7 separate regions of the Homo sapiens genome follow, and regions 2, 3, 4, 5, 6 and 7 are each linked to region 1. The links are contacts of gene promoters, found by promoter capture Hi-C in blood cells and fetal thymus (Javierre and others, 2016). All regions are on one chromosome and are shown on one strand. Each heading gives the region's core, a stretch centred on a gene start or on the middle of the fragment in contact. The rest is flanking DNA. Distances are from core to core; before and after follow the strand shown.

Region 1 (3,453 bases), core at 741-3,240:
GAACTCATTCCCTTAAAGCTGCTGAGATTCTTTTTCCTCATCTGTAAAATGGTCTTTGCTATAAGGATTAAAGGAGACAACACATTGGCAAACAAAAGTGCAACTAACGTGGTCAATAGGAGGGGAAAGGGTGCTCTCCCATCTTCCCTCCCACTCCATCTCACTCCAGATGCAGACAACCTACTGCTGGGAGCCTCTTGCACTGTCTGTGCCACTACAAACCTTTACCTCTCAGGGCCCAGAGGAACTGGGCACCAGAACGGCTGACTGAAAGGGAAGAGAGGATGATACCTAGGTTTGATTTGTCCTTTGGGTACCACAATTCCCACATTTTCTTTAGGTCCTGCTAAATTGAAGTTTTCCCTGCAAATGGGTGCCCTGTAGACTCTAGAGTATCTCTACTTATTTATGAGTAGGAAGGCCGTCAGAGTGGTTAAGAATGAGCATTGGTATTGGAGAGACCTAGGTTGGAATCCTGGCTCTACTTTTTCACTTTTTGTGAAGTCCTGGGCAAAAGTCAGCCCGTTTTCCTTAACTATAAAATAGGGACATTAGTTCTAGATAGTTTCCTGATACACTGAAAAAAACACTCCATAAGCATTAATATTATCATTAGGGGGTCTGCTGGGTCAAGTGCTCCTGGGTTGCTCTTTAAAAAATCCCTCACAGTGGCAGAAGGAGGAGACAATGCCTGCCAGTCCCTGCGTCAGGTGACAGCCAGGGAAGGCACGAGGTGGGAACTGGAATTGGGACTTCTGGGCTGTAGTGGGCTATGCCCCCGTGTTTGCACAAAGTTTGTTATCAATAGCGTGAGTTCTCCCAGAATTGAGGATTCTCAGATTGCCCCAGGAGGGGGTATCTGGGATCAGATGCAGAAAATGATTATGACACATCACTATGAACAGAAATGGTGAACTAAGGGTGAGGCATGGAATTGGGACCATATCACAAAAGAGACGGAGGACACAAGTTTATAATAGTTACCATATCCACTTAGATTCCGGAGGTGAAGGACTTTCTGGTCACACCTATTCTTTCTTCCAGGACTTTTTGGAAGCCAGGGATAGAAAACACACTGGGCACACACTATACCCCTGATGGCTGGGGCTATAAAGTCTCTTCTGGGTGGTCCAGGAAGCAAGACCAGAACACATACCGCTGCTGGCCCGAGGATGATGACATGTAACTATTAAATTTTCATGGGTTTGAGGTCAAGTATCTTGTCTATTATCTTTTCTTCCCATAAACAGTAGGTGCTCAATAAACAAGCATGACAGCAGGAGAGGAAATGAGGAAAAGGCAGGATAAATAAAATACCCCTGATGAGTTCCAGGCCTCTTAATCTTGGTTCTTTCTCAATCGGTAAATATCAAATAAGGGCTCAACCGTAGTCCTGCCAACACCTCCAAAGCATCTCCATAGTCCGGATGCTAAACCACCCAGTGTCCACCAGGGGTCCTGGGATGAAGGGAGACGTGTTTCTTTCACGGTCATCATGATCGATTACTTCTTCCCTTCAAGTCCAGAGTCGCAGGCAGTGGACATAAGGCCACCTCCAGCCCTCTGCTTCCAAGGCTGGGGAGAGGCAAGGTCTCCCTTCGCCGCCGTAACCAGCCCGGGAACAGGAAGGCTGGGGAAGGTGGGGGACTCCATCAGCAAGGAAACCCTGGGGCTTCACTCTCCTACAGGCGGTCCTGCGAGCGCGGCCAAAGAGAGGCAGGGCGCTAGGGAAGGCGCGGGGACCCGGCCTCGGTGGAAGGACTTGTCCCCGGCGCAGAGGACGGGCGGGCGGCCGGGCGTGGGCGAGCGCGTAGCCGGCGTGCTCCTCCGTGCGCCCGGGCGGCGCGGGCGCGGCCGGCGATCCTGCAGAGGGAGCTGTGCGCCGGCCTTAGCGCACGCTCGGTGCCGCCCGCTCCCTCTTGCCGCCGCCGCCGCCGCTGGGCCCGCCCGCCGGGGAGGGGCTCCCGGCCTCGCAGACAGCGGCTTCCTGCTTTCTGCACGTCCTCGCCGCCGCGCCGCCAGTCCGTTTGTGCTAGCTCTGGCCGTGAGCCGGCCGCCCGCTGCCGCCGGCCGCCCCGCAGCTGCCTGCGCCCCAGCCGCGCCTCGCGGCCAGCCCGGCTAGCTCAGGTCCGCTCCCGGAGCCCGCGCCCCTCCACGCTGCCCCCTGCCTGTCCCCGGCCATGCTGTCCCTTCAGTACCCCGACGTGTACCGCGACGAGACCGCCGTAAGTATCTCTGCCTCCGCCCAGAGGGCTCCCGGGCAAAGGTGCCCAGCCTGCCTGACCCGTGGCACCCGCAGCTCCTCTTCCTGTAGGCCTTCGACCCCCGCGTCCCTCCCCTCCCCCTCGGCCTTTGTTTGGGAGAATTGGGCCGGGGGCGCGGGGCTCCTCTGCAGCGCTGGGGTCCCGCGGGCGGTCACTCTGCTAGTGCTGGCGGCGGAGCCTGTGGGCAGCGCCGCCCGGCCGCTTCCTAGAATCAATGGGGTCAAGGGCAGACGCCCGGGTAGAATGGGTGTCTTCAGGGAGTGGGAAGACAGACGGTGTCACTGCTTTTTTGACTGGCGAAGCCTCTTGCTTAAATATGGTGGTAGGAGAAAGTGTCCGCTGGGGTGTGTGTGTGTGTTTGTGTGTGTGTGTGTGTGTGTGTGTGTGTGATGTCACATTTAAAAACGAAAACAAACTTTTAAAACTTACACTTTAAAGTCCTTAGAGTTGAAGCATATTCGTTCGATTTTAAAAGGTGTGTTGAGCGCCTACCCTGTCCCAGGTCGGATGAGGCGCACTGGGCCCTGGGGATGCCAGAGACCCGGACAGAAATGGGGAAGGCGGAGCAGTGACCCCATAGTGTGGCCGTGCTGATCCATGTTTTCTTAAACAAGAAAAGGAGTTGAGAGAGGGTGAGAGGAGGTCTTAGAAGGGAGAGGGGTTGACCTTTTTCAGAATGAGTAAGTTTTGTCTAGTGGCGGAGTTGACCACCATTTGCCTAAGCTGCAGATGAACTCAAGGTAACTGTTGAGATCCAGTAGGCGGAATTCTGGGCAGACACCTTTTTTGTGTAAACGTGAATTTGACGACTTAGGAACTGGATTGCATCCACATGTTGTGGCCGTGATTCTCTTACTAATAGCTACATTTCTCAGATTACTTAAAATATAATCAGAATAAGTATGTATTTGTGTGATACAGTTTTAATGTTTTTCTGTTTACTTTCCCAATTTATGCCAGAAAGTGTTTACTTTAAAGCACGTGCTACATTGGGGTAAAGGGTGCTGACGCTTCGGAGTAAAGGACATACTGTTTTAAATTAAGACTTCCAAGTGACACTGATGCATTCATTCATGGTTTCTTTGACCAGTGGCCATCTGGTAACCATGTTTTCTCAGTCTGCTCAGCTGCTTGCTTATTAAATTTACCCTAACAGCTCAAGAAGCTCTATTCCTGTGGTTTAAAGGTT
Region 2 (3,667 bases), core at 803-3,302, 870 kb before region 1:
TACAGCTCATGTTTATCTTTGACCTGAAGTCTGACTCAAAATGTTACACATTCAGAACTGGGTATAACATAATGTAGCTGACTTAGTCTAATAACTGCATTTATTACAATTTTTTGGGGCATAAAATTACTTTTTTTCTATTTCTGCCTTGGCTCATATTGTTTCTTATGTGACTGTTGTAAAGTTTTCTTTATTAAATTTTATTAAATTAATTTTAAAGTGACGTTTGATTAAATCCAACTTAATAATGTTTGGTTAAAATATACTTTATTCCATTTTGTTTTTGGTTATAAATTATTTTTGTAGCTATTATGTTTGGTTTTATTTGTGATGATTATGAATAAGCTTACACTACTGTAATTGAGCTAACATACTTCTAAGACTGAGTAGTCTTGTGAGAGATCTCCACAGCAAAGTCTAATGAGAGGTATGCTGTGGATACTGGAGTCCTTGGTACTTTATTTTCTGTTTATTCAGAATGAGAATATTCATTTCGGAAATCTTTAGCTTGGTAAATGTTGCTTGTAGAAAATATATTTTGGAGTAAAATGCTGAATGTTAATTAATGTAAATGGGTAAAAGGTGGATGTTTTCTATTCTGTTTCTTTTATCAGGAATACTTTTTTCCCTTTAACTCCTACTGATGCTTTAATGCTCATCTCAGTTGTCACTTTCTATAAGAAGCTTTCCTTCTTTTATTGTTTTAGTCAACAGATATTTATTGAGCACCTTGTGTATATCTGACATTATGCTAGGGGCTAGTGATCATCCAGCACTGATGGGACAAACATGGCTCCTGTCTTCACAGAGCTTTATAGAAAAGTGGAGGCAGAACTGTTAATGCTTTCAACTTTCATGACCTTTTGTCCATTTAGGCATTTTTTTCTCTTGTATTTTATCACACTCTGGTATAGTTATATGGTTTATGTATTTTGCTGGCCTATCAGTTAGCCTGGTTGGGGTACATCTTACATTTTTGTATCCCCAGCACCTAGTGTGGTCTTTGGCAGAGAGTAGAGAAACTAAATATTAACTGCATGACTTCTTTATTTTATTCCTTTCTAATACTAACAGGAAATAATATTAACAATTTTTCATAAGTAGTTTCCTATTAAACTAAAGGAAGTGTCTTGTTTGAATTTATTTATGGAATTGGATTTTATGTAGAGTTTTTTCTTCCAAAAGAAGTTTTTATTAATTTGTGAAGTCAGAGATATTAAACCTTTCTGTTAGTGCAATTGTAAATTTCTCAATATTGTGACATAATAGATGGCACATTTATTTCATTTAGAACTGCACTTGTAGATTATAACAGCTAAACAACAGTTTAAACAATTTTTGAATACTTTCAAATGCTAATTTTAATTTCTCAGAACTCTGTGAAAGAGAAATAAGAAAAGCTTATGAAACCAAGAAAACTCATTTAGGACATACTGTGCCTTTCAGTGTTTTTTTTATGAGTTTTCATTTTATATATAAAAATATTTAACCTCTCTGTGAAATAAAGTTAATGGCCACAAGAAATAAAAGAAAGTAGCATTTTTATTTATGAGCAGTTGTTACTGCAAGTGCAGGCTATTACCTATTTAATATCAAGTTGTTTTTCTTATAAGCTAGTGATTTGAGGAAATCTATAAAAAATGTTTTTACCATGACTTAGTTTCTTGCTTTTCGGAGTATACAATCCCAAAAAGGCGGGGAGGGTTGGCATTAGATACGTTCTGTAGACCTGCAAATAAACGCAAGGTTTAACTGCTAATATGTTAAAAGTGTACAGTGTTTCTAAAATGTGGTTAGGCTTTTTCAACTAATTAATATTTTAGAGACAATAATTATTTGATAGTGTGCCATTTTAACTTAAAACTGGTTTTTAAGAGGAGATGGTGATTAGCTAATGGTAATTTTATAACAAGTCACGACATTTGGAAAATACTTTTGTTTGGTAGGTAACATAAAAGTTAAATGCAGCCGTTCCAGCTCTTTGGAGGTTTGTGTGATATAGACTGGTGGGTTGTCATTGCATTGCCTTGTTTTTACTACTTCTGCTTATAGTAGAATAAGTAGACTGAGAAATTATTGTTTTGAGATGGAGCACCAGACCTGATCTATTTATTTATTGCTGTGTCTCTTATCAGTTGTATGATCATGGCAGGTCACTTTTCTCTCTAAGCTGGACTTTTCTTTCTTTTCTTTTCTACCCCTTCCCCAATTCCCTTCCCTTCCCCTAGGTGATGTCTGTAAAGCTGGAGTTTTATTACAAATACGAAGGTGGTAATGCCTCATAAGACTCAAATTCAAGGATTGTAAAGCAATAATCACATACACCTTAATTCTGATGATAGATGTTTTCAGTTCATTTCAAAAGGACTTCCTGGGTGAATAATATTTATTGTTCTCCCATCCCCCTCCTTCTCGGTCTTTTTAAGCAGGACTTACTAGGTAGAAGGAAATAGATAACTTTCCAGAAATAACTGTGGTAACATAGAAAAACTACTAAAACAGAAACAAGAGTTTTTAGACTTGATGCAGCTACTACCTGTGTATCTATTTTGAGTCTTTAATTTCTGTGTTTTTTGTTACAGTGTCAGGTTCTGTTGTAGTTGCAGGTGGTGTAAAAGTAGATTCCTAAGTAGAACTGTAGGAGGCATAACTACTCTTCTTGAACCTTTTTTCTCATTGAAAGACTGATATTGGATAAGCTTCCTTTTTTACAGTCTTTAGCAAAATTCAGATTTTTATCAGTCTTTGGAACACTGAGATTACATTGTATAAATAAGAGCAAAGAAAATAGTAGAATGAATCTATATCGGTCACTCAGTCTCATCTGTTACCAGTATATGGCCAGCCTTGTTTCATCTATTATTTTTCATTCCTTGTCTGTGTGAGTTTTTGGAAATTTTTCTTTCTTCCATTGCCACAAATATTTCTCACAGATTTTATACTCTCATGTTTAATCAAGTCTTGGAAACAACATTCATTGTCTTTGATCTTCATGGCTGCAAATTCAGTCTTCATTATAGGAGAATCATGCCCGGACCGTAGTAGTGTGGATTAGCTAGCCAGTATAAGAACCTACTATGTGCCAGCCTCTGTGCTAAGCACAGGGGACGCTGGGGTAAATATGACAGGCACGATCCCTTCCCTCTGAATGTGTAGGGTAGCAGAGGAGCCAGGCATTAAACAGATCACTTTTACGTAATTGTTACATTTATAACTGGAGTTGTAGAGGAAGGAGGAAGGGCTAGAGAGAGTGGTGTGGTTGTGATGAAAGTTGTTTCAGGCTGAGGGAATGATCTGGGCTAGGTTCAGAAGCAAAGAGCCTACTAAGTTCTGAGAACTGACTAGAATGTGGTGATCAAGATCGAGAGTGGTAAGGAGGTCAAACTGGAAGTCAGGCAGAGACGCTGCCTGTTCAGGGCTTTGTAGGCCATTTTAACAATATTGAACTTAATCCCTGGCAGGAGGAACAGAGAGTGGGATGGTAGGAGACCAGTGAAACATTTTAAGCAGACCTATAACAGAATCAGATTTCCCTTTTTAAGACATCCCTTTGGCTGCAGTATGGTTAATGAATTAGAAAGAAGCAAATGGGAATTGAAAAGGACCAAGTGGGAGTCTATACCAGTGGTCATATCAGACCAGTGGTCTATACCAGTGGTGATATGTA
Region 3 (3,733 bases), core at 1,219-3,718, 850 kb before region 1:
GGGTATTTGGTTGTAAATATTGCAGCTATACTGTGTTAGGGCTTTTATTCTCCCAATTATGGCTAGCAAAGGCTGCTCAATTGCATAACTCCAACAGGCAACATTCACATAGAATTTGATGTGAGTGATGCAGACTCCCTGGCTCTGAGCCAGACTGAACAGTCCAGCAGTTCTGTAATGATGGGGTTTTGGCAGGGCCACTTTTCCATACTGGTCCTGACACTTCTTACCTGGTAGAATCTAGAAGCTCAGTGCCTTCTCTTGTTGAATCTGAGGCAGCCTAAAAGATAATGATAATAGGAAACACTTATGTAGCACTTAATTTGTGTCAGGCACAGTAAGTGTCTTGCTAAAACTCACACAACTATTAAATAAATGACAAAGCTGGGAAACAAACCCAGGCAGTGTGGCTCCAGACTGTCTACTTTTTCCACTATGCCACACTTTGTTTGCTATTCCCTTGTTTTTATTGTCTCCATTGCCTAGTCATTCATTTAGCTATTAGTGATTAACAAACATTCGTTGAGTATGTACTATGTGCATACTCATAGTACATTAACTTTCTAGGGCTGAAGTACGTAGAACTTTCTAGGGCTGAAGATAAAGTCTTTGCCCTCATGGGACTTACATTTTGGTTGAGGGAGAGCGACAGTACATACTTAAACATGTAAATTGCATAATTTGAAGTAACGATAAGTATTTAGAATAAAATAGAGTGATGGTATAGGGAATGATTGGAAAGTGGGACTGTCTTACCTAGGATTATGAAAGAAATCTTTCTGAGGGGGTAACACTATTGAGACTTGAATGATGAGAAGCAGTTATGTAAAGATTAGGAAAGTGGGGATTCTAGGCTGCTAAAACTGAAATGGGAGCAAGTTTGGTATTTACTAGGGACCGAAAAGAAAAATAGCATGACTTAGAGCTTAGTAAGTAAGGTAGGTAGTAACTTAGTAAGTTAGTAAGGTAGACAGTGAGATCTCAGAGAAATGCAGCAATAACTTTCCAAGGGGGTGGAATGGGCCTGGTAGGAATCTGCTTCTAGGGGAAGAGGTATTTTGTTACTCACATTATTTATGGTTGCCTGCATGTAGAGTTTGGTCAGGGAGCAGTCTGCCCCAGATGCAGGCAGTAAGGAGATGCAGTGGGTTGCATATTTTTAAAAATGATTTTAGTATATAACTTAAAATAACCATATCATTAATGTGCATCATAAAGCATTATGTTTTATGGCCCATTAGAAAATATTTGAAAATTTACTCGTTGATGATTTATACTTTAAAAGAGCTTTCTGGATGCTGTGCACAGGGGATAAACATAGGACAGTGACCAAGTAGGAGGCTATTGTGTTGGCTCAGAGAGGTGAAAGTGGTAGTGGTGAACACGGAGAGAAGTAATTGCAGTCTAAATATATATTGATTACTGTTCTTGATGCCAATTTTCTAAGACTGTGGCACTTACTTTGTAGGGTAAAGGAGTAAATGTCTTCTCTCAGTTAATTTTCAGACAGTTACTGTCCAGGTCACAATTGTCCAGGAATTTGGATTTTATTGCTTTTGTGATTCACTGAAACCACAGATTTCCCTGGGTAGAAACCTTCTGCCAAGATGTGTGTTTATGGACAGGATGAAGGATGAACTTCCTCCAGGACTGGCACTGCTCAGCCCTGACGCAGAGGCTAGCCCACTGGGCCCACCTACTTCTGTGTTCATGATGAATTTTCAAGGGCTGATTCTCTTAATTTGACCTGGCTCATAAGGCAGATGAGTTTGAAGATACAGGTCACTTACTGAAAACCTGCTTTTGGCAGCCTACCAGTAATTACTACTTGTTCATTTTTATTTTTCTCCTGTTTTGTCTTACAGAGATGTTTAACATATTACGTATGAAGAAATTAATTCATATGGGTCTATATTTGAATGTGTTTTCTGTTACATACCTTGAAAGCCTCTGATTAAAACAATACAATTATTACATGATCACTTGTAGTACTGATTTGAATAATACTGTTGACAGATGGAAAATTTTGTGAAGAGTGGGTTCCCTTCTGTAGTGATTTTCAGCCATTTGCTTTTCCTTCCAAAGACAAGCTTACAGTCTGTCTTCTATGTGCTGTCACAATCCGACATTTATTTGAAATGCTGTAACTCTGCTCTCCCTTGGCTTCTTAGATGTTAAAGACCAGGAGGTGAATAGTGTATGCATGTGGAGACCATTTCATCGGTTTCCTGCATGAGGGTCCTAGCCAGCTGAATTGAGCCTGAGTAGCAATCCCTACACTCTCCTTATATGTCCTCCATGTCTCCCGTGGGGGATTTTAGACATGTTATTTGTGGCATAAGAATTATTTTGCCTTGAGTTTTTACCTCTCGTAAAGCTTAAGTGGAAGAATAGGTAAATCCTTTAAAGTTATCACTTTTTCCTGCAGTTTGTCCATGTGAGTAACAAAGAATACAAATTAACTTGGTATCTTATGCATTTTAGAGAGCTCTGAAATTAAAAAAAAAATAACATTTTTTCCAGGTGTTTTAAAATTTGCAAGACCAATATAAAAGCTTAATTCAGCAGAGAGAGAGAGGAAAAATGGATGACCATCAGGATTTTTGAGGAATGGTATTTTTCATCTTTTTTTTTTTTAATTGATTGAATATTTCTGTAGAACAGTCCTTCAGTTTTATGCTTTTGATTTGATAGCCTTCTTAAATGTTAAGTTTTATAAAAAGAAACTAACATCAGTAATATTGCTTGTAGCTCTGGCGAGAAGTATATATATTATCTTCCTCCCAATGTGAATAAGCTAAGTGACTGCTAGTTTTAATTTTCTCCTACTTAGTCTTTGTTTTGTTTGGCTCTGCACGGTGGCTCATGCCTGTAATCCAGCACTTTGGGAGGCCAAGGCAGATGGATCACTTGAGGTCAGAAGTCCAAGACCAGCCTGGCCAACATGGTGAAATCCCGTCTCTACTAAAAATACAAAAATTAGCCGGGCGTGATGATGCATGCCTATAACCCCAGCTACTTGGGAGGCTGAGGTGGGAGAACCTCTTGAACCTGGGAGGTGGAGGTTGCAGTGAGCAGAGATCTCGCCACTGCACTCCAGCTGGGGTGACAGAGCGAGACTCTGTCTCTTTTTAAAAGGAACAAAAAAATCCATTGTGAAAGACACTTGGTTATTCCTTCAATCTCAACACTGATTTTCTCTCCTCCTTTTCTTTTCTTCTTTTCTTTTTCTTTCTTTCTTTTCTTTCTTTCTTTCTCTTTCTCTTTCTTTCTTTCTTTTTCTCTTTCTTTTTCTGTCTTTCTTTCTCTCCCCCTCCCCCTCCCTTCCTCCCTCCCTCCCTCTCTCTCTCTCTGATTAGGGTGTTTTTAGCTATTGCTGGGAAAATACCTTTTTAATATAAGAATATAGCGTTTCTATAAGAAGATTAAAGTTAATATCAATTAATACAGATTTTTTTTTTATCGTGTCTTCCTTTTAAACATAGTTGTATTTGGGCCTAATCAGTGGGTTAAGCAGGCTAAGTTTTATGTGAAGAATTAATAAACTCTGATAAAAGAGTGTCTATAAAATATAAGAAAACTATATATTTTACCTTAGGGCTGAGAGAGGAAGACCAAACTTGTAAGGGGTCCCACCTGCAAAGGCTAGGGCTCAGACTTCACTGGAGGAGGTATATTCAGCTCATTGAATTAGTAGAAAAGTTCCCTCTTCCCGCCAGGCCAGAGTTGGTAT
Region 4 (3,707 bases), core at 392-2,891, 830 kb before region 1:
GTCTTTTTTTTCTTAGCATCTGAGAGTCAAATTGGTCCCAATTCTCCAGAATACATCTTAGGGGTGTTTTTGCCTTGAGGGGAACGTTTCCTATCTGAAAAAAGAACATAGGGATGCCAGCACCACTAGTCATTTTCCGATGAGCATTAGTCCTAGAGCGTCCTCTATGGTCCTAATGCTTATTCCTTTCCGGGGTGTGTAACCACCCATGGACCTCTGCTTATCGGATTAGTTATGCTCACTGATGTAGCAGCCCTCACCCCTTTTCCCGCCTTTCTTGATCACAAAGAAAGGGGTCCGGGCTGCTGGATTCTAGTGGTCCTTTACCAGCGTGCCCAACATTGCCTTTGTGCTCAGGGGTGAGTCCTAGAGCTAGGCTGAGTTCCTGAGTATTTCATAACAACCCAGCTGCTCCATCAAGATGCATTCCCATAAACAACAGTTCTTAGGCAAATTCGTTTCAGAGAGGGTATAAGTAAGCTTTTGAGTCAGGATTGAGATAGTCTTTTTGATTCGGTAAGTACGTTAAGGCTTGGCTGAGTGCAAACAGCTCTGACATTTGAGGAGACCAATTATTAGGCAATTTTTCTAACTCTGCTTCCACAAGAGTCTCCCTATCAATTACTGAATACCCATTGTGGTTTTTTCCTCAGTCATTTGGGAGGAACCATCTATCATCCTGTCCTGAAGGGAGTTCCTCCTAGGTCTGGTCGGACCTTTGTATGGTAATTAAGATTTAAATCCCCTGTAAGGAAATCTGCAGGGTTAAGGGAATTATCAGTGGTTAGTGTTAAATTACCTTTTTCTGACAGAATAGCCCCATACTTTAATATTTTTGAGTTAATAAGCTACCTTTTTGCTTTTTTGACTTAGAATAATTCTGAACCGGTGAGGTGTGCTCACAATGAGGTTTCCTCTAAAAGTTACTTTTCTACTTTTTTCTGTTAGCAAAGCAGTTGCCGCTACAGATTGAATGCATTTGGGCCATCCGCAGGTCACTGGATGTTAAGGATTTTTGATAGGAAGGCTATGGGTTGTCAGTGGTCTTAGTGTTTTCAGGCTACGCCCTTGTTTACGCTGACAACAAGGTAGTATTGGAGTGTTATAGGGTCGCGGAGAAGACCTTCAATTATCAATTATAGGTTTTACATTTACCCTGGCTTTTAAAGGAATAGGGCACACTGTTTTTTTTTACTATTTCTATCTTTGTCTTTCTTTCTCTGACTCCCTGTTTGTCTCTCTGCCTCTTTCTCCTCTTTGTCTCTCTCCCTCTCCTCTCTGTCTCTCTCCCTGTCCTCCCTGTCTCTCTCTCTCTCCTCTCTGTCTCTCTCTCTCTCTGTCTCTGTCTGTCTCTCACTGTCTCTTTCTCTCTGTCTCTCTCTGTTTCCTCTCTTAGCCATTTACAAACTTGGGGCCCTGGCAAGGGTGGTGGGGAACAGGTCCCACATAACTGCCCATGTCTAGAGCTGTATACCTAAATCAGGAGGGACACCAGGGACAAGACTCCCTGGGTTTATAGCCTAGATGCCTAAGGGCGCAGCATAGAGCTTCCTTAGATCCCTTTGGAGATACAACTTGCTAGAGGAAATGAAAGTCTCAACCATTAGTACCTAGGAGGCAGGGATCAGAGGAAGTAGATTCAGAGGTAAGGAGAATTTTGGGGCTACACTTTCAAGAAAGTCGTGGTTGGGACCCAGGAGGTGTGGGACAGAAGGGAAGGTAGGAGCGCACGCATGGGCGACTGTTGAGTAGAGACTTCTGGCTGCGACATGATCTCAACCGGCTAATGCCGGGAGTTCGGGACGACAGCTTTCTGCCTCTAGTCAGCCCTTGGCTTCCCCAGGAAAATTGAAAGTGGAAGCTGGCTCCAGGCAGACCAAGGTTCCCAACCCAGAAGGGTTGAGGGTTGTTAGAAAGCCCTTCCCCAGATAGCCTCATACCTGAGTCTAAAGTCTGGCGGCCATGCTAATCGTTTTTAACCGGCCGACAGGTGCCCAGTATTTTCCTCCAATTCTAAGGGATAGGCCAGAGTAGCAAGCAAAAGTGGTCCAATATTACCGCTTTGGAGATCCCTTCATGGTTGCGGGTTCAGGTCCCTTTGTGGTCGCCAAATTGTTACCAGGGGGTCCTTGCTCCCAGAACTCCGAAGATGGTGGCGGGCTGCTTCTAAGATGATGGCAAGCCTCGTGTTCTCTGACCTGGGGTTCTTGGCCTCATGGATTCCAATAAATGGAATCTTGGGCCACGCGGTGAGTGTTATAGCTCTATTAGAAGCCACGGGTCACAGAAGAGAACCGTGGAACCCAGTGACTAGTGTTCAGCTCAATTAGGATGAACCCGGGCACTTAGCCGCGTAGGAACAATGGCAAGTCTTTAGCCCAGTCGGGATCGGCAATGGGCGTCTCACTGGATCAGGAGCACAACGGACACCCTGCTAGATCCAGAGGGATGGAAGTCAGTGGCAGGCCTGCGATGGCGGCAAACAGCAGTGGTGGATGGAGAGTGAAAGCTCAGCTCGAGCCGTAACAAACACGGACCAGAAGAGTGCAGTTGCAAGATTTAATAGAGTGAAAACAGAGCTCCCATACAAAGGGAGGGGACCCAAAGAGGGTAGCCCAATAAAGCTATTTTCTAATAACCAAATAGTTTATGGACTGGTGAAACTCCTGAAAGTTTTTTGTGGGATAATTGCACCCAAGCTGTAAAATAATCAGTTTAAGCCCCTCCTTGTTAGATTAGGTTCTTACGATATGCTTAGGTTCTGAGTTGTTTTATTTCCCTGTTTGTTTTACCTTAAGCTTTTTTACAATTCATTGCTGCCTGGTTTGAGTTGGTTCCTTATTCCTTCTCCTTCAAGTTGAATTACAACTAGTAATTGCTTGCCTAACTTTACCTGATAAGATTTTATATCCTGTTCTGTATTCTGTATTTCAGTCATCAGTTTGTGCTCATAGCTTGACAATAACCAGAACAGTGCAAGAACAGTTACAGTATTATGTGTAGTTATCAAACAAGGCTGTCTTAATTTTCTTACATTCCTAAATACTAAATTATTTTCTATGGTATTGATCTACAGTCTTAAGCACCTTCAGAGCTTCAAGGTACTGATCATTTCTTGAAGTGCAGTTTTTCTGCATGTAGTTTTTGGTTGACATTTTTTCTTTATAGAGACAGGGTCTCCACTGCAAGAGTGCAGTGGCACAGTCATAGCTCACTGCAGCCTCCAACTCCTGGGCTCAAGCGATCTTTCCACCTTAGCCGCCTGAGTAGCTGGGACTACAGGTCCACACCACCACATTCAGCCAATCTTTTTATTCTTTGTAGAGACAGAGCCTCTTTCTGCTGCCCAGGCTGGTCTTCAACTCCTTGCCTCAAGTGATCCTCCCACCTTGGCCACCCAAAATACTGAGATTACAGGTGTCCACCAGCATTCCAGGTCCCAGACATTCTACTTCTTTCAGTGCTTTGATTATGTCATCTGATTGCCTATTGACAACATCATTTCTGATGAGAAATTTGTTATTAATCTGAAGATGTTTTGTACATAAGTCCCTTGCCTGTTTTGAGAGTCTCTCTTTATATTTCAGTCATTTGATTATGATGTACCTAGGTGTGGATCGCTTTGATTTTATTCTTTTTAGTTTGTTTATCTTCTTGGATGTGTAGATTAATTTTTGGGGTCAAGTTCGGGAAGTTTAGGGCCATTA
Region 5 (3,487 bases), core at 557-3,056, 810 kb before region 1:
TTATTTGAAGAAAATTTGCCTCAAGTGTTTGTATGACAAAGTACATTTGGCACTGTCTAGACAGAATTATAATAAGTATAACAATTTAAATAAGACAAAACATAAACTCCAAACCAGATTGTGGATATAATTCTGATGGATGCTTTTATTTAATCATAGTATCAATTAAGAAACTTCTCCTTTGGAGATTAAGTGTCCCTGACTATAATAATGACAGCTTTTCAAATGTTAATTATTATTTTTTAGTGTTGTCAAGACTATTAAAAGTGGGCTTCAGACTCTCAACATAAGTACAGAAAGTGCTTATTTTCAACTCTCCTATTTCTCTACATAAAGGATAAAAGTAGTCTGATAAGTGCTACAGACTCCCACCCACTCCCCTCTCTGTTCCCCCTCTTTCTACCACCAAAAGACTGTTTACTGTAAAGCTCTAAAAGCATTCATTTGGAAATGGTCTGTTCTTTTTATTTAATGAGGTATTGTATATTGTGTACATTCTTAAGCTAATTTTAATGAATCTTCTTTTGAAAACCATGTGATGTAAAATTTGATATGCATGAATATATCTTAAGCCAAATATGCATGGGACAGTTGAAGCAGATATCATGTGTCATTGTTGGTAAAGTCTGGCAGCATATCCTGTGTAAACCCCTGTTTTCTTTTTCTTTGTGCCACATAATATTTATTCTCATTAACAAGACTTCAAAGGAAACTGAAGTTAGAATACCAGTTATTTTTTATTCTCTCTTAATGGGTTCTGTAACAACTAAATACTGTTACCTTTCTTGGTTCTACGTTTCACAATGGTTCAAGAGAGGAATGAAAAGAACTAGTCATTGTTAAGCACTTGTTACATTAGATATTTCATATATCTCATTTAATTATCACATCAATTGTTCAAAGATAAGTTTTCCTCATTTTTCAGATTCAGAAACAGTACTCCCAAAGGTTGATGTAATTTGCTCTAGATACACAGTACGTTGTTGGGAGTTGGGATTCCAACCAAACCTTTGTTATTTCCACTACATTTGACATTCCAAGCTCTATATGCTATGGCCTTTAGTCCACTTTTCTCTCCTTATCCACTGATTTCTCAGAAGTACCATTATATTCAGTCTGCCCTCTGAATACTCAAATGACTTTATCTCTTTCTCTATTTAAAAAAAAATATGTATTTCAAGCTGGAAGCTTGAAGACCTTCTATATTCCCTCCATTATTTTTATCTTCTTTTGAAATTCTCTACTGTTGTAATATTTTACTTTCTACCACAATTAGCATATTTTACTTTGTACCTACTGATATAGCTTCCAACTCTTAGAAAATGAAATTAACCAGTTAGGATTGTTTTGGTTTTGCTCTAAATGCCAGTAAGTCCAGAGTTAAAATTTGTGCTCAAGCTTTGTAATTTTTTTCATAGTGCTTTGTACATATTTCTGTTATCACATAACACTGTATTACAGTTGTTTGCATGTTATTTATCTTTGTATCCATTAGCATAGTGATACCCTGGTAAATGCATAGTAAATATGTAATGAATGAAGATTTCTGATAAAATTTATTCCTGCCTTCTGATCATTACTTAGAGATCCTGCACTTGGGTACTACTATTAAGATAATTCTATCCAGGCTACTTATATGTTAGTAGTAGTAGTCGTTGTTGTACCTATGCTTTTGTTAAACATAGGTAAAACCAAAGCTTTTTTAAAACATGGACAGGAAATAAAAACAATATTCTTTGTTGTAATTTGTTTATATCATTGTAGTGCCTATTACCACTATTACTCAACTAGCAGCTACTTGATTCTCTAAAGTAATGTACCATAGTATGCTTGGGGTTTTTTTGTTTTTGCTAAAGATCTATAAGAAAAGTTTTATTGCTATTCATCTTTGTCACCATTTCAGCAATGAAGCTTCACTAATATTTATTATGTAATATTTTCAAAAATAGTAAGTTCGGTTCATTATCTCAAAATTGTGTGTCAAGTGAAAATATACTGATTTGATGGCCCTAGTAATTGCCAATAGGGTTTTTTGAGTTTTGTTTTGTTTTGTTTAATATACGGAGTCTCGCTCTGGGCTCTCGCCCAGGCTGGAGTGCAGTGGGACGGTGTCAGCTCACTGCAACCTCCGCCTCACAGGATCAAGTGATTCTCCTGCCTCAGCCTCCCGAGTAGCTGGGATTACAAGCACCCGCCACAGCGCCCGGCTAATTTTTGTATTTTTGTTAGAGACGGGTTCACCATATTGGCCAGGCTGATCTCGAACTCCTGACCTCAGGTGATCCGCCCGCCTTGGCCTCCCAAAGTGCTGGAATTACAGGCATGAGCCTCTGCACCCAGCCATCCAATAGGGTTTTTAATTTTGGAAGGTAGCTTTTGGGCATGAACAAGCACACTCATAGTTAGTTGTGTTTTATTAGAGTTATAAATTGTAAAATCTAGTTTTTCTAAAATGCCTTTTCAGTTCAATTAATGCTACTTAGAAATTTAGTAATTGTTGTACAAAAATGAGAGCAGTCTTTTTCACTTCTTGATATTTCCAGAGTCCATCCCTTTTCTAGATTTAATTCTTAAATAACACATAGTACTACTTATATAGTTAGGCAAATCTAATTATATTCTTGATTAATCAATAAATGAACTTTGCTAATTCCAGTTATAGTTTAGTATAGCTGATTTTTTAAGCACCTGCAAATATAACAAGTGAAATCCTGTGATACACTTAAGCAACCCTTGTAAATCAAATAAATTTTACTTATAAATGTAGTAAATCACCATCCTGTTTCAAAAGACTTAAAAACAAAGCACACACACAAAGTAGCTGATGAATAAAAACTTGTTGCTATACCTTGAAAAATACAACATACATAAATTATCAATATAATATTTGTTTCTTCAGCTCAACCAAGAAGACTAGAATGTCCATCTAAGCCTCACTGGAGCAAATGATATTATGCATTCAGTTTACAGGGATTTGGGTCTTTGGGAGATCCTGAGCAGTCTCACTCTGTTGCCCAGGCTGGAGTGCAGTGACATGATCTCAGCTCACTGCAACCTTTGCCTCCCAGGTTCAAGTGATTCTCCTGCCTCAGCCTCCTGAGTAGCTGGGACTACAGATGCACGCCACCACTCCCGGCTAATTTTTTTTATTTTTAGTAGAGATGAGGTTTCGCCATGTTGGCCAGGCTGGCCTCGAACTCCCGACCTCATGATCCACCCGCCTCAGCCTCCCAAAGTGCTGGGATTACAGGCGTGAGCCACCACGCCCGGCCTGTCCAATCTCTTTTTAAATAAACTTGAGCCCCTTGTCATTGTTACATTCTGCCTGCTGTGTCCGTAGGAGACTCCCCCAGCACCTCCATCCGTGCTTGGCTTTTAATTAAGGCCATTTTAAGTTTTACAACCCAGTGCATTGTGCATCTACTGGGCATCTGTTAAGTTTCACCCCTTTGGTTATTTTATGTTTTTCTCTTTCATAGCTTTTTAT
Region 6 (3,722 bases), core at 125-2,624, 940 kb before region 1:
CTAAGCATTGACTACCTATGGTAAATTGAGAACATTATATAATTCTTCCAGATGAGTGAGGGCTTTGCAAGAGAGGATGTAATTATTATATGAAGAAATGAAAATAACACTCTCCTTTCTCATTTGCAATGCTTATTAAATTGTATGAATTACATGTTACCAGATTGTTTATTCATATTTGCTTTGTTCTGAAAAAGGATTTGAGACTGTTGAATGAAAATAGGTAACACATAAGCAACGAGCTGTGTGGGTTCTTTTCCCTACTCAGAAACATAGAATATAATTTCATATACTGTAGTAATGGCATAATAAAGTGGCTTAATAAGCAGCCAGTTTCAAACACTGCTTAACTGGCTAGTTATGGGTAATTTATGCATGGGATAATGCAGCCCATCAGTTGCTACATTTATTTAGCATCCAGAGGTTTTGCGTAAATGAATCAATCAATTCAATTTAAAAACTAGTATAATTTATTTCCTCCTACTTAATTGACATTGGCTCTGATGTACCCATTACCTCAATTATGGAATTCTAGATTCAAGTCCATAGTACTGGATCTTGGACAGACTGTCATTTTAAAATAGAATTAAATGAGCTCATGTACCAGACATGGCTAGTTGCCAATACTCATTCTCCCTTCTTCAAAACATTACCCTGATTCTGTTTGAGGTGAGAACACTCTCTAACTAAAAGTACTTGATTTCCCAGCTTGTTTTCCAGATAGAGGTAGTCATTTGGCACAATCACGACCAGTTAGATGTGGGTGAACATCTGTGGCGAGGATTTGCTTCCTTGAATGGAATGGTAAACCTTTGAGAGGAGGAAGTCCTTGGCCTCCATCCTTTCTGTCTTCTTTTCGTCTTCCTTCCTGAGACATGAATGTTATGCCAAAGAAGCCAAACCCATCTTATGGCCCAGAGGATTGCAGGGCAGGAAGAAAGAAGCATTTGGAACAATGACGCTACCATGGGGCCACTACCCAAGCCCTAGACTTCTTGTAATGTGAACAACAACTAAAAATCTAATTTTGGTTGAGTTTTCTGCCACCTGCTGTCAAATTTCAAATACTATAAAGGTGCCCAAAGTGGGTGCCAAAAAAATGTTAGCAATTATGTGAGAGATTCCTAAAGATCAGGAAATACTTTAGGAAAGCTTTAATTAATTAATTAATTAACATGAAAAAGGGGAGTAAGTCTAATAGCAGGGAGGTAAAAACAATGATGTTATTAATATTTATTATTATTTTTTTTTAATAGAGACATAGTCTTCCTGTGCTGCCCAGGCTGGTCTTGAAGTCCTGGGCTCAAGCAATCCTCCATGCTTGGCCTCCCAAACTGTTGGGATTACAGGCATGAGCCACCACACCCAGCCAATAGTTATTATTATGGTTAATTTTTTGAGTGCTTACCATACACCAGGCACTGTGTAATATTGTATATATATATAAATATAAATATGCATATAACATACAGCACATATATAAACAGATGTTTATTTGTTATGTATATATAACATATGTATAATTTATTACTATAACAATACTATAGGGTTGCAACTATTGTTACCCCATTTCATAGGTGAGAAGAATAAAGCTTAGGAAGGTTAAATAAATGTGGCTACAGGCGCATGCCACCACACCTGGCTAAATTTTTGTATTTTTAGTGGGGACAGGGTTTTGCCATGTTGGTCAGAGTGGTCTTGAACTCCTGACCTCAGGTGTTCCACCTCCCTTGGCCTCCCAAAGTACTGGGATTACAGGCATGAGCTGCCACGCCTGGTCAAAACATCCTGCTTTTTAAATGAAGTATCAGATTAAGACATGTAGGCAAAAAAGCAATGTAGCAGCAATGCATGAAGAATAGGTTTATCTGTTAATCCCTAAATAGCTGGTATTTGAGTATCAGGAACTACAGAGACATCTAGAGGGGAAGAGGAAAGGTCTGAAACCGTGGCCAAGAGACGCAAAGCTATGCACTGCCCCTCAGAACTTCATGATGGCAAAGAACAGTTTATTGTGTTGAACTTTTGTTTACACTGATGTGTATATATTAAAATAAGACGTATTTGTTAAAGTGTGGTGGTGGTCAGGAGAATACACTTCACAGATCTTTACTGAGTGAGAGTGATTGATTGAGGGCCCAGGGACTGAGCATGCTGGAGATTAGAGGGCAGTCCTATTCCATGGGACTCCTCTGACTGATGACTTTGGCTTGAGACATCTAAAAATTTCTTGTTGCACCTACCTTAGGCTAAACTGGCTTCTATCCACCTGCTCCTTTGCTCCACTGACAGCTGGCTTTCCCAGCCCCTCCTCTCTCCCTACATTTTCCTTTTCTTTTTCTTTTTCTTTTTTTTTTTTGAGACCAAGTCTTGCTCTGTTGCCCAAGCTGGAGTGCAATGGTGTGATCTTGGGTCATTGCAACCTCAGCCCCCCGGAGTTCAAGTGATTCTCCTGCCTCAGCCTCCTGAGTAGCTGGGATTACAGCATGTGCCGCCATGCCCGGCTAATTTTTGTATTTTTAGTAGAGGCAGGTTTTCACCATACTGGTCAGGCTGGTCTTGAACTCCTGACGTCAGTTGATCCGCCCGCCTCCACCTCCCAAAGTGCTGGGATTACAGGCTTGAGCCACAGAGCCTGGCCTTCTTTTTTTTTTTTTTTTTTCAGGGATGTCCCCATGTTCCCTGGGCCAGTCTCAAACTCCTGGGCTCAAGCGATCCTTCTGCCTCAGCCTCTCAAAGTGCTAGGATTACAGGCGTGAGCCACCATGCCTGACCCCCCTACATTTTCTATCACAGAGACTTCTCCTAGAGAAATATTTGTAAATTTAATCCTGTCCTGGAGTCTGCTTCTGGGAGGACCCAGACTAACATGAGTGATAAATGTCTTCTTAAGAAAATGCCTCCAGTCTAGACTGCTCCCTCAAACTCTAGATCTCTTTAGATGTTACCATAAAATTCCATAAGGATACTTTGCAGGTAATCCCCCACCTTTTTAATAGACTTAGTTTTTCTTTTTTCTTTTTTTTTTTTTTTTAGACTTAGTTTTTCTAGAGCATTCTTAGGGTCATAAGAAATTTGAATAGAAGGTACAGAGACTTCCCATATATCCTCTGCCCCCACACAGGTATAGCCCCCCACTAACAACATTGCCCACCAGAGTGACATTAACCAACTTTGAGCTCTAGGGAACACATGCTAAAAATTTTCTTCTTATCAGTTTTATAATTTCTTTGTATCATTAATATTAATACTTCAGCAAACAACAATGCTTAGAGACAGTGATTCATGGGCTAATTTTAGACAGTCCTCACTACATAAATAAGGCCTGTAGTTTACAACTGATGAACCTACATTTACACATCATTATCACACAGTGCCCATAGCTTACCATAGGGTTCACTCTTGATGTTGTACAGTCTAGGGGTTTGGATAACTTATAATGACATATATCCACCATTCTAGTGTCATGCAGAGTAGTTTCACTGCCCTAAGAGTCACTGGTGCTTTGCCTGTTCATCCCTCCCTCCCTTCAACCCCTGATTTTTTTTTTTTTTTGAGATGGAGTCTCACTGTGTTGCCCAGGCTGGAGTGCAGCCATGTGATCTCAGCTTACTGCAACCTCTGCCACCCAGATTCAAGTGATTCTCTGGCCTCAGCCTCCTATGTAGCTGGGATTACAGGTGCCCACCACCACACCCAGATAATTTTAGTATTTTTAGTAG
Region 7 (3,326 bases), core at 94-2,593, 890 kb before region 1:
AGTCCAGAAGTTTGAGACCAGCCTGGGCAACATAGTTGGACACTATCTCTATAAAAAATAAAATAATTAGCTGGGCATAGTGGCACATGTCTGTAGTCCCAGCCACTCAGGAGGCTGAGGTGGGAGGATCGCTTGAGCCCAGGAGGTCAAGATTGTAGTGAGCTCTGACTGCACCACTGCACTCCAGCCTAGGTTACAGAGTAAGACCCTGTCTCAAAAAAAAAAAAAAAAATTACTTGATTTTATATTATAGATTGCTTTAAGATATATTTGTTTTAGAATTTGCTTACAAATTCACAAAAGTGTTTCACACATTTGTTAATGGCAGGGAATATGTAAAACACTGGATTGCTAGTAATTTTATGTGATCTCGAGTGAATCTTATCTAATAGATTAGACTATTTTGCCTAGCGGAGTTCTTTGTGTTTTCAGTGCTGTTTAGAATTTGGAAAGCAATATGGTGTCACTTTTGAAATGTTAAGTCTTTTTAATGAAATCCAAGTGAATAAAACTTTAATTAAGTGCCTACATTCATCTTTAACCCTGTTGCAGATACCTAAGAGAGATATTCTAAAAAATAAATTGAAGACGTTAAAAGGTCTGTTTTGTAAAAGTATAAGGTATTATTTAGAGCTTGTTCAATTTTAATACTTTAGAGAGAAGGATCAGAATTGGATTAAATCTATAACTTGTCTATAGTACTATATATGTGTGTATATGTGTGTGTGTGTGTATGTATATTTTTTTTTAATTTTAGGTTTTGACTGAGGCGAGAGTTTTTCCTGGTTCCAGAATTTTCTTCAGTATTAGTTTCTGGATATGAAAGGATTGATTAGAGAGAAATTTAAGGGATATTATTAAGAGATATAATGCATATAAGACTAAAAGTACCCCCACTGCTTTATTTTTACCGACCGGGCGTTCATCCTAAATTCTTTTTTTTTTTTTTTTCTTGAGAAAAGGTCTCACTCTGTCGTCCAGGCTGGAGTGCAGTGGCACAGTCTTGGCTCACTGCAGCCTCTGCCTCTCGGGCTCAAGAGAGTCTCCCGCCTCAGCCTCCTGAGTAGCTAGGGCTGCAGGTGTGTGCCATCATGCCCAGCTAATTTTTTTTTTTTTTGTATTTTTGGGTAGAGACAGAGTTTCACCATGTCAGTCTCAGGTACTGGAACTGGTCTCGAACTCCTGACTTCAAGTCAAGTGATCCACCCACCTTGGCCCCCCAAAGTGTTGGGATTACAGGCTTGAGTTACAGTACCCAGCCCATCCTAAATTCCTACCAAATAAATACATGATCTCTAGAAACTGATGACTTTTCCATAATTCTATACAAGTAAGCAAGCATAAATTATATATACAATTATATATATAAACATATATCTATGTTTATATATATAAGCAAATGTGTACTGCTCCTTGCAGTGCAGGGCTATCCCATAAGCATCGTGCCCAGAGTAGCACAAGCATAAATAATATTAACTGATATTTGAATCTTGGTCAGAGTTACTCATTTTGAGATAAATTTGATGTGTTTTCAAATTTTGCAGCTCTTAAATCTAGGAGTAACTCATTAATAGATTATACAGATAAAGACAGGACTGTGTATAACACCAAGTAGTCTTCTTTTTGCCCTTGTTGTGAGTACAGGGTGAGCATCCCAAATCCCACAATTTGAAATCCAGAATCTAAGACTACAAAATCCAAAACATTTTGAGCACTGACGTGACACTCAAAGGAAGTGCTCATTCCAGCATTTCAGATTTTCAGATTTGTGATGCTCAAATGGTAAGAATATGATGCAAATATTCCAAAATTTGAAGAAAAAAAAAAAAGCTGAAATCTGAAACACTTCTCTAATCCCAAGCATTTTGGAAATGGGATACTCAACCTGTATTATTTAATTCTGATTAACCAAGTAAGCTAATTTACTTTAGATTTTTTAAAAGGATGACTTAAGGTTTGTCCATTGAAATCTACAACATTTGTATTAGTCATGTTTATTTATTGCTAAGTTATTTACTTCACTGTGGGTAATGGTTATATTAGGAAATGTTCTCTTATTTTGGAACTTATTTTTTTAAATTTAGAATTAGGTTTCAGAAGAATATTCAGTGGCTTGGGAAAATGTTGACATTATATTATGTGAAAAAAGTTATAGTACAGTTTGTAAAGGATAGTCCTAATCTGTATTTAGATATGTATGTGTAGGTAGAAGACTGGAAATGTATATGCTATAATGTTAATGGTAATAACCACAGAATAGGTGATTTGCATGCGTTTTAGTTGCTCATCTTGGTTCTTACAGTTTTTTAAAATTTTAAGTTCTAAAAGTAAAAAACATATTTAAATAAATTTACAAAAATCAACTGTCCTTTATGAATACAGGGATGACAATTAGATGCAACAGTACTGTGACATAACAGTTCACATGGCTGATAAAGAATGCCTTTGCCCACAATCCTATTGTGCATATTGAGGTTTCTATGGGAATGGAGTGGTTAGAAGGAAACCACCTGATGCCTGGAAAGTAGATCATACTAGCCTAGGCACGTAACTGTAGAATGTAGTCTTCCTGTGATTTGTGATTAAAGCCCCTGACATTTGGTGTTAAAATATGTGTTGGAAATTTATTTTGGCCTTGTAGTTATAACTTTAAATATTTATTTTCTCAAAATATACTGTTTCATTTTTAGGCATTATCCAATTGGTTTGCTATTTGATCTTCTTGCATCAAGTTCAGCTCTTCCTTGGAACATCACAGTACATTTTAAGGTATAGTAAATTGCATTTCTCCTTCGTCCCATTTGTGATACATAATAAATAGACTTCGAGTAGAATTTTCTTTTTAAGTGAAGTTATTTATTGCTTTTCCCCTGACACTGTTTTAGTTGCTAAGCTTCGATTAGTATTTGTCTATAAGATACTTTTCAATTTTTTCCTAACTCTTGGCAGAAACACTTAAACTTTTAATATATGAACTGCTTTTCTTTATTAGTGCTGAATACACTTTTTAAAATTTACGAGTTTTTGGGCCAGCCTTGGTGGCTCACGCCTGTAATCCCAGCACTTTGGGAGGCCGAGGTGAGCCCAGGATTTCAAGACCAGCCTGGGCAATGTAGTGAGACCCTGCCTCTATAAAAAATAAAATTTAAAGTTTTGAAAGTTGGTGTTAATTTTTAAAAGTCGGCTAGAAAAAACAAAAATCTTGCATGTAGATGTGGATATGGAAGTACAGAGGGGACAACCTAATACTGTTGAGTAATTCTAAGGCTATTTTGAATGAATTAAGAGAAGGGTTAGGAGATAGAATTCCAAAGATTTGATCTACC

The links. Contacts are between HindIII fragments. The CHiCAGO score rates a contact against its expected background, and 5 or more counts as called.
Region 2: a contact is called between a fragment that was not itself captured here and the fragment with the promoter of PREP in region 1, in 2 of 17 cell types (total CD8 T cells and total CD4 T cells). The highest score is 5.7, in total CD8 T cells.
Region 3: a fragment that was not itself captured here is called in contact with the fragment with the promoter of PREP in region 1 in 6 of 17 cell types (naive CD8 T cells, activated CD4 T cells, total CD8 T cells and 3 more); the score reaches 6.9 in naive CD8 T cells.
Region 4: a fragment that was not itself captured here is called in contact with the fragment with the promoter of PREP in region 1 in 1 of 17 cell types (naive CD8 T cells); the score reaches 5.2 in naive CD8 T cells.
Region 5: a fragment that was not itself captured here is called in contact with the fragment with the promoter of PREP in region 1 in 3 of 17 cell types (total B cells, naive B cells and total CD8 T cells); the score reaches 8.7 in total B cells.
Region 6: a fragment that was not itself captured here is called in contact with the fragment with the promoter of PREP in region 1 in 1 of 17 cell types (activated CD4 T cells); the score reaches 5.2 in activated CD4 T cells.
Region 7: a fragment that was not itself captured here is called in contact with the fragment with the promoter of PREP in region 1 in 5 of 17 cell types (naive CD4 T cells, M1 macrophages, total CD8 T cells and 2 more); the score reaches 7.6 in naive CD4 T cells.

What each region holds. Positions count from the first base shown.
Region 1 is chr6:105,401,619-105,405,071 of GRCh38, reverse strand. PREP (prolyl endopeptidase) reads left to right here and starts at 1,990. Exons shown (of 15, transcript NM_002726.5): 1 at 1,990-2,225. The coding sequence starts at 2,181. RefSeq lists a silencer at 1,713-2,282. The HindIII fragment of the contact is 7,847 bases long and covers 1-3,453 here.
Region 2 is chr6:106,272,132-106,275,798 of GRCh38, reverse strand. All of the region lies in intron 5 of ATG5 (autophagy related 5), which reads left to right. Among named protein-coding and RNA genes, the nearest start is that of ATG5, 52 kb to the left of the region's middle. The HindIII fragment of the contact is 1,299 bases long and covers 1,403-2,701 here.
Region 3 is chr6:106,251,254-106,254,986 of GRCh38, reverse strand. The region is part of intron 5 of ATG5 (autophagy related 5); the gene reads left to right. Among named protein-coding and RNA genes, the nearest start is that of ATG5, 73 kb to the left of the region's middle. The HindIII fragment of the contact is 178 bases long and covers 2,380-2,557 here.
Region 4 is chr6:106,227,046-106,230,752 of GRCh38, reverse strand. The region is part of intron 6 of ATG5 (autophagy related 5); the gene reads left to right. Among named protein-coding and RNA genes, the nearest start is that of ATG5, 97 kb to the left of the region's middle. RefSeq lists a silencer at 482-682. The HindIII fragment of the contact is 2,318 bases long and covers 483-2,800 here.
Region 5 is chr6:106,211,214-106,214,700 of GRCh38, reverse strand. The region is part of intron 6 of ATG5 (autophagy related 5); the gene reads left to right. Among named protein-coding and RNA genes, the nearest start is that of ATG5, 110 kb to the left of the region's middle. The HindIII fragment of the contact is 214 bases long and covers 1,700-1,913 here.
Region 6 is chr6:106,341,691-106,345,412 of GRCh38, reverse strand. No RefSeq gene overlaps it. Among named protein-coding and RNA genes, the nearest start is that of CRYBG1, 17 kb to the left of the region's middle. The HindIII fragment of the contact is 440 bases long and covers 1,155-1,594 here.
Region 7 is chr6:106,292,471-106,295,796 of GRCh38, reverse strand. It overlaps ATG5 (autophagy related 5), which reads left to right. Exons shown (of 8, transcript NM_004849.4): 4 at 2,691-2,769. Among named protein-coding and RNA genes, the nearest start is that of ATG5, 32 kb to the left of the region's middle. The HindIII fragment of the contact is 3,105 bases long and covers 1-2,895 here.